Linked DNA regions of Homo sapiens: region 2 is linked to region 1. Evidence: promoter capture Hi-C in 16 types of primary human blood cells and fetal thymus (Javierre and others, 2016). All regions are on one chromosome and are shown on one strand. Each heading gives the region's core, a stretch centred on a gene start or on the middle of the fragment in contact. The rest is flanking DNA. Distances are from core to core; before and after follow the strand shown.

Region 1 (5,788 bases), core at 1,981-4,480:
GAAGGTCATAGTGGTTACATATCAGCCTTTTCACATGTTTCAACCGAAAAACTGAAGGAGTTCCCTTGAGTTTGAGCAATCTATAGTATCACTTCTCCTGGAAGGCAGAGTGAGAGAAAAGGGGGTGTACTGGTTTCCTAGGGCTACTGTAACAAAGAACCTCAAACTTATTGGCTTAAACTGACAGATTTCTTGTGTCACAGTTCCGGAGGTCAGAATTCTGGGAATCAAGGTATTGGCAGGATTGGTTCCTTCTGACCTGTGAAGGAGAGGCTGTTCCATGGCCTCTTCTTAGCTCTGGGGGGACATTAGTCAATTTGGTGTTCCCTGACTTATAGTTCCGTCTCCCAATCTCTGCCTTCATCTTCACATAATGTTATCTCAGCGTACACATGTCCACGTCCAAATTTTTTCTCTTTTTATAAGTTCAGTCGTAGTGGATTAGGGCCCACCCTAATGACCTTACTTAACCTTAACTTGATCATCTACAAAAGAATCTATTTCCAAATAAGATCACATTCACAGCTACTGGGGATCATTTGAGGGGACACAGTTCCACCATAACAGGGTGGGTAGGGATCTGTGATTTCCTGGCCAAAGGCATTATTCTGTTGCTGTTTGGAATGCTATCAAAATATTAATTATGGTATCACATCTCTGTGCCTAGGAGTCTCTGCTGACTTCTGTTATTGGTCGTGTAAGATCTTACAACCCCAGGGCAACTTTCAGCCTCAAAAGAACTGATGTCAGAGCCAGGGCTGGGGATAATGATATTTTGTTCTGATATAGGCTCAAAGTCACTATTTGAAGTCCTGGCTATAAAAATTAGTTCCAGCAGCTTTCACCTAAAGCTGGCCCAAGTCTGAAATGAACCAAATTGCATGAGCTCTATTATGTGCCCCTCTTGTAATATAAAAATCTAATAAAAGTAAATAGCAAAGTCTAATAGATAATCCTAACAGAGGAGCAAGCACTAAGGTGTGGTAGCTGAGGAACACCTAAGCTTGTGCTATTTGTAATGCTGCTTATTAGATACATCGCTGATCCTCCTGTCAACTCCAGTTAATGTTTCTGTCCCATTCAAGTTGAAAATGTTCAAATTCAGCTAATGTCTATGGCATCTCCTGAAAGCCCATCACTGCTGGGCACTTTTCCATTTTATTGCATTTAATCGTCACAACTCAGAGAGGAAACTTGTTTTGTTAGCTAAGAATCAAATCCTAGACTTGACACTAAGTCCACTGTGCTGGTCCCCCTGCTATTTGATAATATTCCAAAGCAAAATACCCATGCTACCGATGACTGGGACCCCCCAGCTCAGTCACTTGGGCTAGTTTTTCCTGTAGTCTTTCAGGATTGGAAGTAGAGTGGAGTTGTCAGGTCCTGTTACAAAAGTAGACTAACTGGAACTGTAGACTTTTTTCTTTAAACCTAACAGAAGGAAAAGATTGGTGAATCAAAAACTAGCATAAAAACTGCAAAAAACCTCTGGGAAAATAGACGGTCATGAAGTCCATATATGGGAAAGAAATGTAGCCCAGAAATTTCTAGGCATATGAAAAGCACAACTGTAAAACTAAGATGTTTTAGATGGAGGAGAGCTGAGAGTGACAGCTGAGAGTCGTAGATGCTGCCTTGGAAGAGTGTCCACGCTACCCTGGACAGGGGCCTGCCTGCCCACCCAGTGACCATGGCAGGGCAGAGAAAAAGCAATGTCAGCCCAGTATCTTCTCCAGCCAGTGGGGTGGCTTCAGGAGAGGGCTGGGACTGGGGATCTCAACCTTAGCAGCACATTAGAATCATCTGGGGAGGTTTAAAACAGCCTGATACACTTGGCCTCACCTGGAATGCACAAAATCAGAATCTCTATGGATTCAATTCACTATCAGTATTTAAGGCTGCCAGGTGATTCCAGTGTGCTGCCAACAACCACTGAGAGCACACAGCAAGGGAAGAGAGCAACCTGCTGGCTTCTGAGCTCTTTCTCCTCCCAGCCCAAGGGTTAGGGGATTGGGAGTCAGAGAAGTGGCCCAGGCAGATGAGTATGGAGGTGTCCAGCAAGATGTGGACAGATGGAGGATCTGGGAGCCCACATTTCAATGCTAGAGGCCATCTGCCCTAAGGTCCACCTTCCCCTTCTTCCTAATCAAGATCACCAGGAGGCGCACAGGCTGTAACCCCTTCTCCTGGTGTACGATATTAATCACGGCATCTTATATCCCCTGAAGGGGATATAAAGTCACAAGAAAAAATTTCTAGGCATATGAGAAGCACAAACTCTATAAGATACTGACAACAAGCAGACCAACTTTTACCTAACAATTCAGAATAATGCACTATATTAAGGAGAAAAAGAAAAATCAGATAAGAATTACCAGGAACTTTATAGGAAAAAAAAAAGCCCTAGAACTATTATAGGACAGACAAGACCTAAGTAGATAAAAATATAACATGTTCAAATTATTGAGATAACTTACCTTTGTTAACTGTAGAACTAAGGTGTTCATTTTCCACCAGATTATCTACAGTTTCAACAGTTTTAATCCAAAAGTTAAAATTTTTTGAGGAGCATGACTAAGTGATTTTAAAATGTTTATGGGAAAACAAAAGTTCATTACACCCATAGCTTGTATGTGGACAGGCCAAGGAAAGAAATCAGGGCTTCTGTCTCCCAGTCTGGTGCTAATTTCACCCCACCTGTCTACAGCCGTGAACTGCATTTTAACAGCACATAAAGAAATATACTGCATGCAATGCCGCTCCTCATATCATAGAACAATTATCTTAATCATAGGAAAGCTTAGAAGTTAACACATCAGTCTGAATGGCATCATAGCTCATCGTTTGTCCCTTTGACAAAGAACTTTTGTAGCGAATGCCACTCCAAACACACAGGGGCTAAGGCAAGGCTGTTACCGCAGTGGGAAGAGGGTAGCACTCTGTGTAAGCAGACGTGGCCAGCCCAGCCGAGAGAGCCCCCCTTTGCTGACTACCTCCAAGAACGTGGACACCTACAGTGCCGCCCAAGCGCCAGAGCGAGTCCCGGCAATGTGTGCCAGCTCCTTAGTGCTGCTGTAGCAATGACTACAAACTGAAATGACACCTCTGCTGTTGGCTTAAAACAACACAAATTTATTACTTACAGTTTTGGAAGTGAAAAGTCCAAAGTTGGTCTCACCAGGCCAAAACCAAGGTGTCAGTAGGGCTGCGTTCTTTCTGGAGGCACTAGGGAAAAAATATGTCACTGGCCCCTCCAGCTTCTAGAAACCACCTACACTCCTTGGCCCACGGTCCTTTTCCTGTTATCTTCCAAGGTAGCCAGTACAGATTGAATCCTGCTCTTATTGAATCACTTTGACCCAACACACCTTCCTCCCTCTTCCACTTTTAAGGAAATCTGTGATTACATTGGGCCCACCTGGATAATCCAGGGCACTCTAATTATTTCCAGCTCAGCTGATTGACATCTTTAATTCCCATCTGCAACTTTAGTTTATCCTTGCCATATAACACAACATATTCACAGCATCCAGGAGTTAGGCGTAGGCATCTTTGGGGACCATTATTCTGCTGATTACAAAATGCATCAGATTCAAACATTTAGCAGGCTAGAGCTAACACCTTCCTTATTACTATCACAAAATGTAGAAAAGCGGTGAATATATCATCGGGAAGTTTGCAGCTTATTTGGCTGGATCCACAACTGCCTTTCATGCCCAGAATGTTGCTAAAAGGAGAGTCTCTCTCCCAGTTACTCTACATCCATCCTGCCCTTGTAAAGCCACCTGGAAAACTGAAGCAATTTTTCAGAAATCCCTGTTTCCATTATATAAATATTCCGTGCGAAAGTGTTCTTTTGGTCTGACTTATTCTAATAAATGCTCCCATTTAACATGCATATGTGTAATCCAGCAAATTAACTTCTCCACAGGATATTAAAGTTAGTGTGTTTTGTGCTGTATGTATCTGTGCATGTACTATGTTTGAACCAGAATATACAATGTATCAAGGAGCTCATTCTTTATCTTTTTCCTGCATTTTCTTATAAACTATTTGGCTGATTAGATTTTTACTGTGACTTTTGTTTCTTATGTCTTTTAAAATTAGAAATTACTGCCATATTCTCTAGAAAAGTACTATCCAGAAGAAATAGAACTATGAAGATATGAAACTGGTTTTACTAGGAAACACACATATACACAGACACATACACACAAGACATAGTGTTTGTACACCCAGGCTCAGTGATTCAGAATCTTTTTTGTGTTGCAGAGTATTGGGATAATTACCTCTTTCCTGAAAAATGTACGTAGTCACATGAACATGAACTTTTGCACTCCTTTTCAAAGGGTTTCTGCCCCATCCTCACCCCCACCCCAGAAATCATCTATAGGTTAATTTGGAGGAAAAACATTCAACATCAGCACAGGTACGGGACACCAATTAGCTGGGAACCATGGAAAGAAAATAAGCATTGTAAGAAATAGCAGAGAAAATTGTAATTTCAAAAAATGTTGATCTTGGCATTGTGCATTAAAGACTTGCAGTAAAACATAACTGGTCCTTAGCATTAAGTTCTTAAAAGATGGTTTCTATAGCCAGTCTTCCCATAGATAGCATGTAAATGGCTCTAAATGAGAAACGTATAGCCCCTGCAACACAAGCACAGATAAAAGGAGGCCTGTCCCCACAGAAAGATTTCATAGGTAGGACACTGCATGAATTCCAGGCTCCGGATCTAAGAGCCAGCCTTGAGCAGCAATGAAGCAGCAACTCTTCAAGCAGCAACTTTTCTGAAGTGAGGAAGTTTGATCCCCAAGCCTGCATACCTGATGGCGAAAGTGTGCTGAGGCTACAGAGCATAGAAAAATACAGACTACAGAGCCAGGCTGTGGCTCAAAATTCTAGTTTCAGCACTTACTGTGTGACATTTGGCAACTTGCCTAACTTCTCTGTGCTTCCACTTTCTCATCAGCAAACAGTGATAATAATAGCACAAACTCATAGGGTGACTGTGAGGAGTAAGTGAGCTCATCTGTATAAAGCACTTAGGATAGTGCCTGGAGCACAGTAAGCACCATGTAAGTATTTGATTGTGTTATTTTTTATCATTATTATTTACTACCACCACCATGACATAGTCCTCCCTGATGCACTGTTAGCATGTAAAGATGGATGATTATTATTAACTAGGATATTAGAGAAAGGGCTCTGTCTAGGGAAAGTCCTCAAATTAACTAGCTTTACCTTCAACTTCTATAAAGCCCTACTTTGTCAGAATTGTTAGCCCCCAAATGATCTATATTTGGGCAATTTCTTGCCCTTGCCAAGATAACTAAGGTAATAAGGAAGTCTACTAGGTAGTCATAATTGTTCTCTCCTCTTCTTTTTATGTTGTATGTGTTCCCAAAGGCCTCTGCATTTGCTTCTTCATTTATTCCAGAAATCTTTATTTCATGCTTAATATTTAAATACTATGTGCCATGCACTGTCTTAGGAAAAGTATCTGCTTTTATGGAGCTCACATTCACGTAAACAGAGAGATGACAAGCAAATAAATAGACCAAACAAGATAATCTCATACAGTGGCAACTGCTAAAGGAAAAAAACAAATCAGAGAAATCCGCTACAGAGTGACTCAGGCAGGGTGAGGAAGGCTGACTGGGGAGAGGGCATTTACATGGACACCAAATAAGAAGAAGCCAGCCATGGTAATATCAGTAGAGAGTGGCGTGTTCCTGGCAGTGGGAACAGCAAGTCCCAAGGCCCTGATGAAGTAACCAGCTTA
Region 2 (6,000 bases), core at 2,463-4,962, 370 kb after region 1:
TAATTAGCATATTCATCATCTTGAACATCATTTCTTTGTGTCGTGAGCACTCAATATCCTTCTACTAGCTATTTGAAACTATATATTATTGCTAAGTAGAGTCATTCTACAGTGCGATGAAACATTAGAACTTATTCCTCCTAGCTAGCTGAGCTGATTCAGGTTGTGAGCCAGCATCCCCACACAGCCCCAGTATACTCCTTGGGTGTTCTGCAAGTCCATCTGGGCCAGAAAGCGATGTCAACCTCAGAGTCCTTGTGAGATCCTCTGCAAGCCTGGATTTAGAGCACCCTCCAGTGCTGAGATGGCTTCAGTGGTCACAGGCTGAAGGAACTCAGCAGTCAGCTTAGAATTTTAGGAAAGCCCTCAGCAGAAGGACAGCCACAAACAAAGCCAGACTGCAAAGACTAAAATAAATACCTAATCCCTCAAAGCACAGACGTTGTCACGCATCCACAAAAAACAAGAACATTTAGGGAAATATGACCTCACCAAATGGACAAAATAAAGTTGCCAGTGACCAACCCTAAAGTGATGGAGATGTGTGATGAGGTAAATAATTCAAAATAGCTGTTTTAAGGAAGCTCAATAAACTTCAAGCAAACACAGAGTCAATTCAGAAATTTATCAGACAAATTTAACAGAGATTGAAATACTTAAAAAAATTAAACATAAACCTTAGAACTGAAAAATACAATGAATGAAATGAAAAATGCAATAGAGAGCATCAACAGCAGAACTGATCAAACAGAATAAAGAATCAGATCAAAGAGACCGTTATAAAATATGCAGGAGAAAAACGAAAATGAATGAAAAGGAAGGAAGCTAGCTCATGGAATCTTCGGGACAACATCAAAAGAACAAATATTTGGGTTATTGGTGTTAAAGAAGGAACTGAGAAAGACAAAGGAGTCAAAATCTTATTCAAAGAAATGATAACGGAAAACTTTTTTTTTTTTGAGATGGAGTCTTGCTCTGTCACCCAGGTTGCAACCTTTGCCTCCCGGGTTCGAGCAATTCTCCCTGCTTCAGCCTCCAGAGTAGCTGGGATTACAGGTGCCTGCCACCACACCTGGCTACTTTTTGTATGTTTTAGTAGAAATGGGGTTTTGCCATGTTGGCCAGGCTGGTCTTGAGCTTCTGACCTCAGATGATCTTCCCACCTTGGCCTCTCAAAGTGCTGGGATTACAGGCATGAGCCACTGTACCTGGCCTGATAACAGAAAACTTTCTAAACCTGGAGAAAGTTATAAATAGAAACCCATAAATCCACACACAGCCAACTCATTTTTGACAAAGGTGTCAAGAACATACACTGGGGAAAGGACAGTCTCTTTAATAAATGATGCTGGGAAAATTCAATATCCATAAGCAAAAGAGTGAAGCAAGATCCCCATCTTTCATCATATACAAAAATCAACCTAAATGAATTAAAGACTTCTGAATGTGGAAAAAAATAATTAATGTGCTTTTTCCTATTTTCTCACTCAATAATACAACAACAATCAATACAGGAGTCTTCCGTGACCCCAAAATATGTGGGGATTTCTCCCCGCCAGGAAGCAAGCAATTAATTCTGCAGTGAACACCAGCTGAGTGTTCTCCAATTTAATTCCGACACTATCTACCTAGTGATAATGTCAGATCCCACAGGTTGAGGGCTCATTCCCCAAGACAACCTCCAGCCTTCAGACACCAGTAGCAGGTTCAGGACTCTGAAAATTCTAACTGACCAGCTTCAAGTTGGAGTTCCCATGACCCTGTCTTTGGATTTGACTAATTTACTAGAGTGGCTCACATATCTCAGCCATACACCTACTTATGTTTACCAGTTTATTACAAAGGATATTTTAAAGAATACAAATAAATAGCCAGATGAAGAGATGCATAGGACAAGGTCTGAAAAGGTCTGGAGTGCAGGAGCTTCTGATCCATGGAGTTGAGGTGTGCCATCCTTACAGCACATGAATGAATTCTTGTTTACCTTCCTGTCAGCCTCCATGTGTTCAGCTCTCTGGAAGGCCCCCAAACCCAGTCCTCTTGAGCCTTTTATGGAGACTTTGTTGGATAGGCATGATTGAAACATGGACATCCATGTCAAAATGTGATTGGACAAAACAGGTATGATTCAATACTAATAGACTGATTGGGGAAACCCAGAAAGGCCTGTCTGTTCACGTCGTTCTGTCCTCTCTGTGCAGCACTTTTTTCCTTTAGGGTATGGGGCAGGACACTCTCGCAAATGAGGCTCTTAGGGCCCACAACCAGACTAGGGTCCTGCCTTGGGCAGGTCAAAGGAGGACAGGAGAATGTTAGAGAGAGAGAGAGAGAGATTCTGTTTTCCAATTCCTACTTCCAATGCCTGGCCTACAGTGCCCCAACATTATAACAAAATTCTGTCCGTGGAAGTTATGAGATAGGAATTGTGGATAAAAACCTACAAACACACACACACACACACACACACACACAATCACACACACATAGAGGCTGGCAGCCATAGGAAGCAGCTGTGAGAGTCTTTGTTTCTGTTCCTGAGTCCATTTAACCTTAAGGGTGGCTCTAGTTCTGTCCCCATTCTAAAAGCATTTCATTATCTCCCAATTATAAAGGACTTTTTTCCTCCCAAAGCTGTTTGCTGGTACAAGGAAACAGAATAATATACACTATATGTATGTATGTATTTAAGATAGGATCTCACTGTATCATCCAGACCAGAGTGCAGTGGCACAATCACAGCTCACTGCAGCCTCGACCTTCCAGACTCGGGTGATCCTTCCACCTTAGCCTTCCAAGCAGTTGGGACTACAGGCACATGCCACCATGCCCTGGTGATGAATATCTCAGTTACCCTATTTGATAATTACACATTGTACATATTTGTACACATTACAAATTATCACATGTACCCCAAAAATATGTACAACTGATATGAATCAGTTTTTAAAATACACTTTTGCTAAATAAATAAAATAGCAATGGAAACTTGAAGAGGAAGATGAGGTCTCAGAGGATGTGCTGTCTGAATTAATTCCAGAGGTCTCTGTAAATGAATTGTGCACCAGCTGATTGAAATATGAGGCTGGTGCTCAGGAGAAAGGTAAGGTCTTGATAAGCAAGCAGGGATGTGGTCTGCATAGGGAAGAGAAATAAGGAAGTGGATGTCAATATTAAAGAGAAACTATGGAACAACAAAAGAAGCAAGAATGACTGAACGTTGAAGAAGCCTCTGCATGTAAAGAGCCAGAAACGGAGAGAGAAACAGCGTAATGTGAGATCTAGAAAGAGCAGCTGTGGGAGAAAGACTGTGATGCTGAAATATCTGAAGAAGGTGTGACTGAGTCTTGAACCTTGACAGACAATAGGGTTGCCTAGGAGAAGGGTATGGGATGAGTAGATTTCATGGACTTCAAAAGAGCAGGAAGATAAGGAGGTGTTGATGGCATCTACCTCTTCTTCCCCTTGGTTCCTAACCTTCTCCCATGCCTTTCCTGCCCCTCTCTGACCCAATTGCTCTATCCGGCCAATGTATGGACATGGCAGCAGCAGGAATAAGTAGACAGATGTTAGGAGAATGGATGCAGGTTCTCTCTAGCCCATGGAAGCATAAGCTTTAATTACCCTGTCTCTGACTCAACTCTTCTCATGCTTATCAGTAGCGTAGCTGAGATCATTGAACATTCTCTGTTACAGTGCCTATTTTATCTAGAGCCAGCCTTCATAAACAAGTTGGCAGCTATCTATTAGAGATGGAATTTCCAGTAACCCTCCTTGACTGTTAGCCGATGTCTGCCATTCCACTATCAAAGCTTCATTTTGTTGGTCTAAAGCTTTGTTTCCTTTTGGGTTCCAGATTCCACTGGGAGAACACACACATGCATCTGCTATCAGTACATAATTTTGTTACAGAATTTATTATCATGGTTCTTTACTTTGTTGTCCATCTCCTTGACTAGCCCATGCATTAATCTGAAGCCATAAGCTGTGTTTTATTTACTTCCGAGCCCCCAGTCCTTAGCATGGCCCCTGAGTGTGTTGGAGCCAGCATGCACTGGCTTGCCAGGGTGGACCGTGCTCATCTCTTTCCAATTCTGTGATATCATGTTGATGGCTTGACATCAACGTGATCAGTTGCAGTGGGAGTATTTGCATCACAGATCTTGGCAAGTACAGCCTTTTTCAGGCCTTTTTCCTCTGGAGGTTCATCTACGACCACACTGCTGCATGTTCTTTTAAACTTAAGCAACTTATTTTTCCTAACTATTGAACTTCTGGGACTATAGTAGGTTTCAAAGTGATACTACTGTGTATTAGTCTGTTCTCACACTGCTAATAAAGACATACCCGAGACTGGGTAATTTATAAAGAAAAGAGATTTAATGGGCTCACAGTTCCACATGGCTGGGGAGGCCTCACAATCATGGCGGGAGGCAAAGGAGGAGTAAAGTCACATCTTGCATGGTGACAGGCACGAAGGCATGTGCAGGGAACTCCCCTTTATAAAACCATCAGATATTGTGAGACTTACTCAATATCACGAGAACAGCACAGGAAAGACTCACCCCCATGATTCAATTATCTCCCACCAGTTTCCTCCCATGACACGTGGGAATTGTGGAAGCTACAATTCAGGATGAGATTTGGGTGGGGACACAGCCAAACCATATCATACTGTAAAATAATAATAATGGGTTCTTAAATTTCCTTAATGCTTTACAGCTTCCTCCTTTGACCTCTCAACAAAGCTGTGAGGTAGGCCAGGAAGACTGTCGAGCCATCTGGGTTAGTGGTGAGCTTGCCAGGGATGTGATCAAGGAACTCTGCAGGGTGGCATGGAGGGAGAAATAGGGAGGATTTTCTCCCTGTGTCTCATGGAGTAGTCCTGTTCATGAACTTGGAATCATCCTCTTTGCCCCTTTTCTGAACTGCTTTTAGCTTTTGAAGACTAAGGACCAGAACTAGCTGCAGTATTGGGCTAAGCAGCCATCCCCAGGATGCAGACGTAAATAGCCAAGGGCTACTTTTAAATATGTAGAAGAGCAGTTTGTGAGGTAAGCTGTGAGAGACCACCAGCCTTATCTTGCTTGATTCTGTGGCTTTTTGTAGTCAGTATCCTAGAGGATCTTATCGGGTGAATCTAAAAGTAAGACTGCTGACAAAGAGAGTATGTTTCAAACTTAGCCTGGAGGCTGAAGAGCTTTTCCCCATCCTGCCCGTCTCTGTCTCCAAAGAGCCTCAGGATAATTGGAATATGGTAGCATGCTAAGCCAAGATGAGAGAATCCAGTAGCATTCCCCAGCAAGGAGGATGTTTTGATGTGTTTTAAGCATAACGTTGTACATCATGGCGAAAGCTCTAAACCGGAGATCTGAGGCTTCTTTGGAGAAAAAGCAATTAGCTTAGGAAATGTAATCATGTCTTAAGTGGAGAATATTCTGGCTCTGTGGCCTGGCTCTGACTTCTGACATGTTCCTAGGACCAAGCCCCAGGTTTGCTCTACTGGAATCATGTTCTCTGGTGGGTTCTGCCAAGCCTGGACCCTGCTTTGATAACAGGTCAGGTATCTCAGCCGCTGGGCCAGGAATGCCACAGTAGTTTCAGTCTTCCCAGGTGGCTGGATTCCTGGCCCTGGGCTGTGTTGAACAGCTACATCCTAATTGCAGGCCTCATCTCTGCTTCTTTTCTGCACTTGGAACTCTCTTCAGGCTGCCCATAACATCTCATCTAATGCTCTTCCTGCTTGCTCCTTCTCCAGAAAAACACTTATCATTCTTGAGTACTGCCCCCTCCCCAAGCCATTCTATATTTTTCTTGATAGTACTATGTGAAACTACCCTTTTAGTTGTCCAATTACTTATTTACCATCTGTCTCTCCTGCTTCTTTGCTAATTACTAGAATATAGACTCCAGGAAGACAGGGACTGTTTTGTTTACACTGGATTTCCAATACCTAGGATAGTATCTGACCCACAGATAGTATCTGACCCACAGTAAGCTCTC

What was found. Contacts are between HindIII fragments. The CHiCAGO score rates a contact against its expected background, and 5 or more counts as called.
Region 2: a contact is called between a fragment that was not itself captured here and the fragment with the promoter of HTR2A-AS1 in region 1, in 2 of 17 cell types (non-activated CD4 T cells and total CD8 T cells). The highest score is 6.5, in non-activated CD4 T cells.

What each region holds. Positions count from the first base shown.
Region 1 is chr13:46,849,582-46,855,369 of GRCh38, reverse strand. HTR2A-AS1 (HTR2A antisense RNA 1) reads right to left here and starts at 3,230. Exons shown (of 2, transcript NR_103752.1): 1 at 3,144-3,230. The region is part of intron 3 of HTR2A (5-hydroxytryptamine receptor 2A); the gene reads left to right. RefSeq lists an enhancer at 16-135. The HindIII fragment of the contact is 4,589 bases long and covers 2,802-5,788 here.
Region 2 is chr13:46,479,481-46,485,480 of GRCh38, reverse strand. No RefSeq gene overlaps it. Among named protein-coding and RNA genes, the nearest start is that of LINC01198, 16 kb to the right of the region's middle. The HindIII fragment of the contact is 198 bases long and covers 3,614-3,811 here.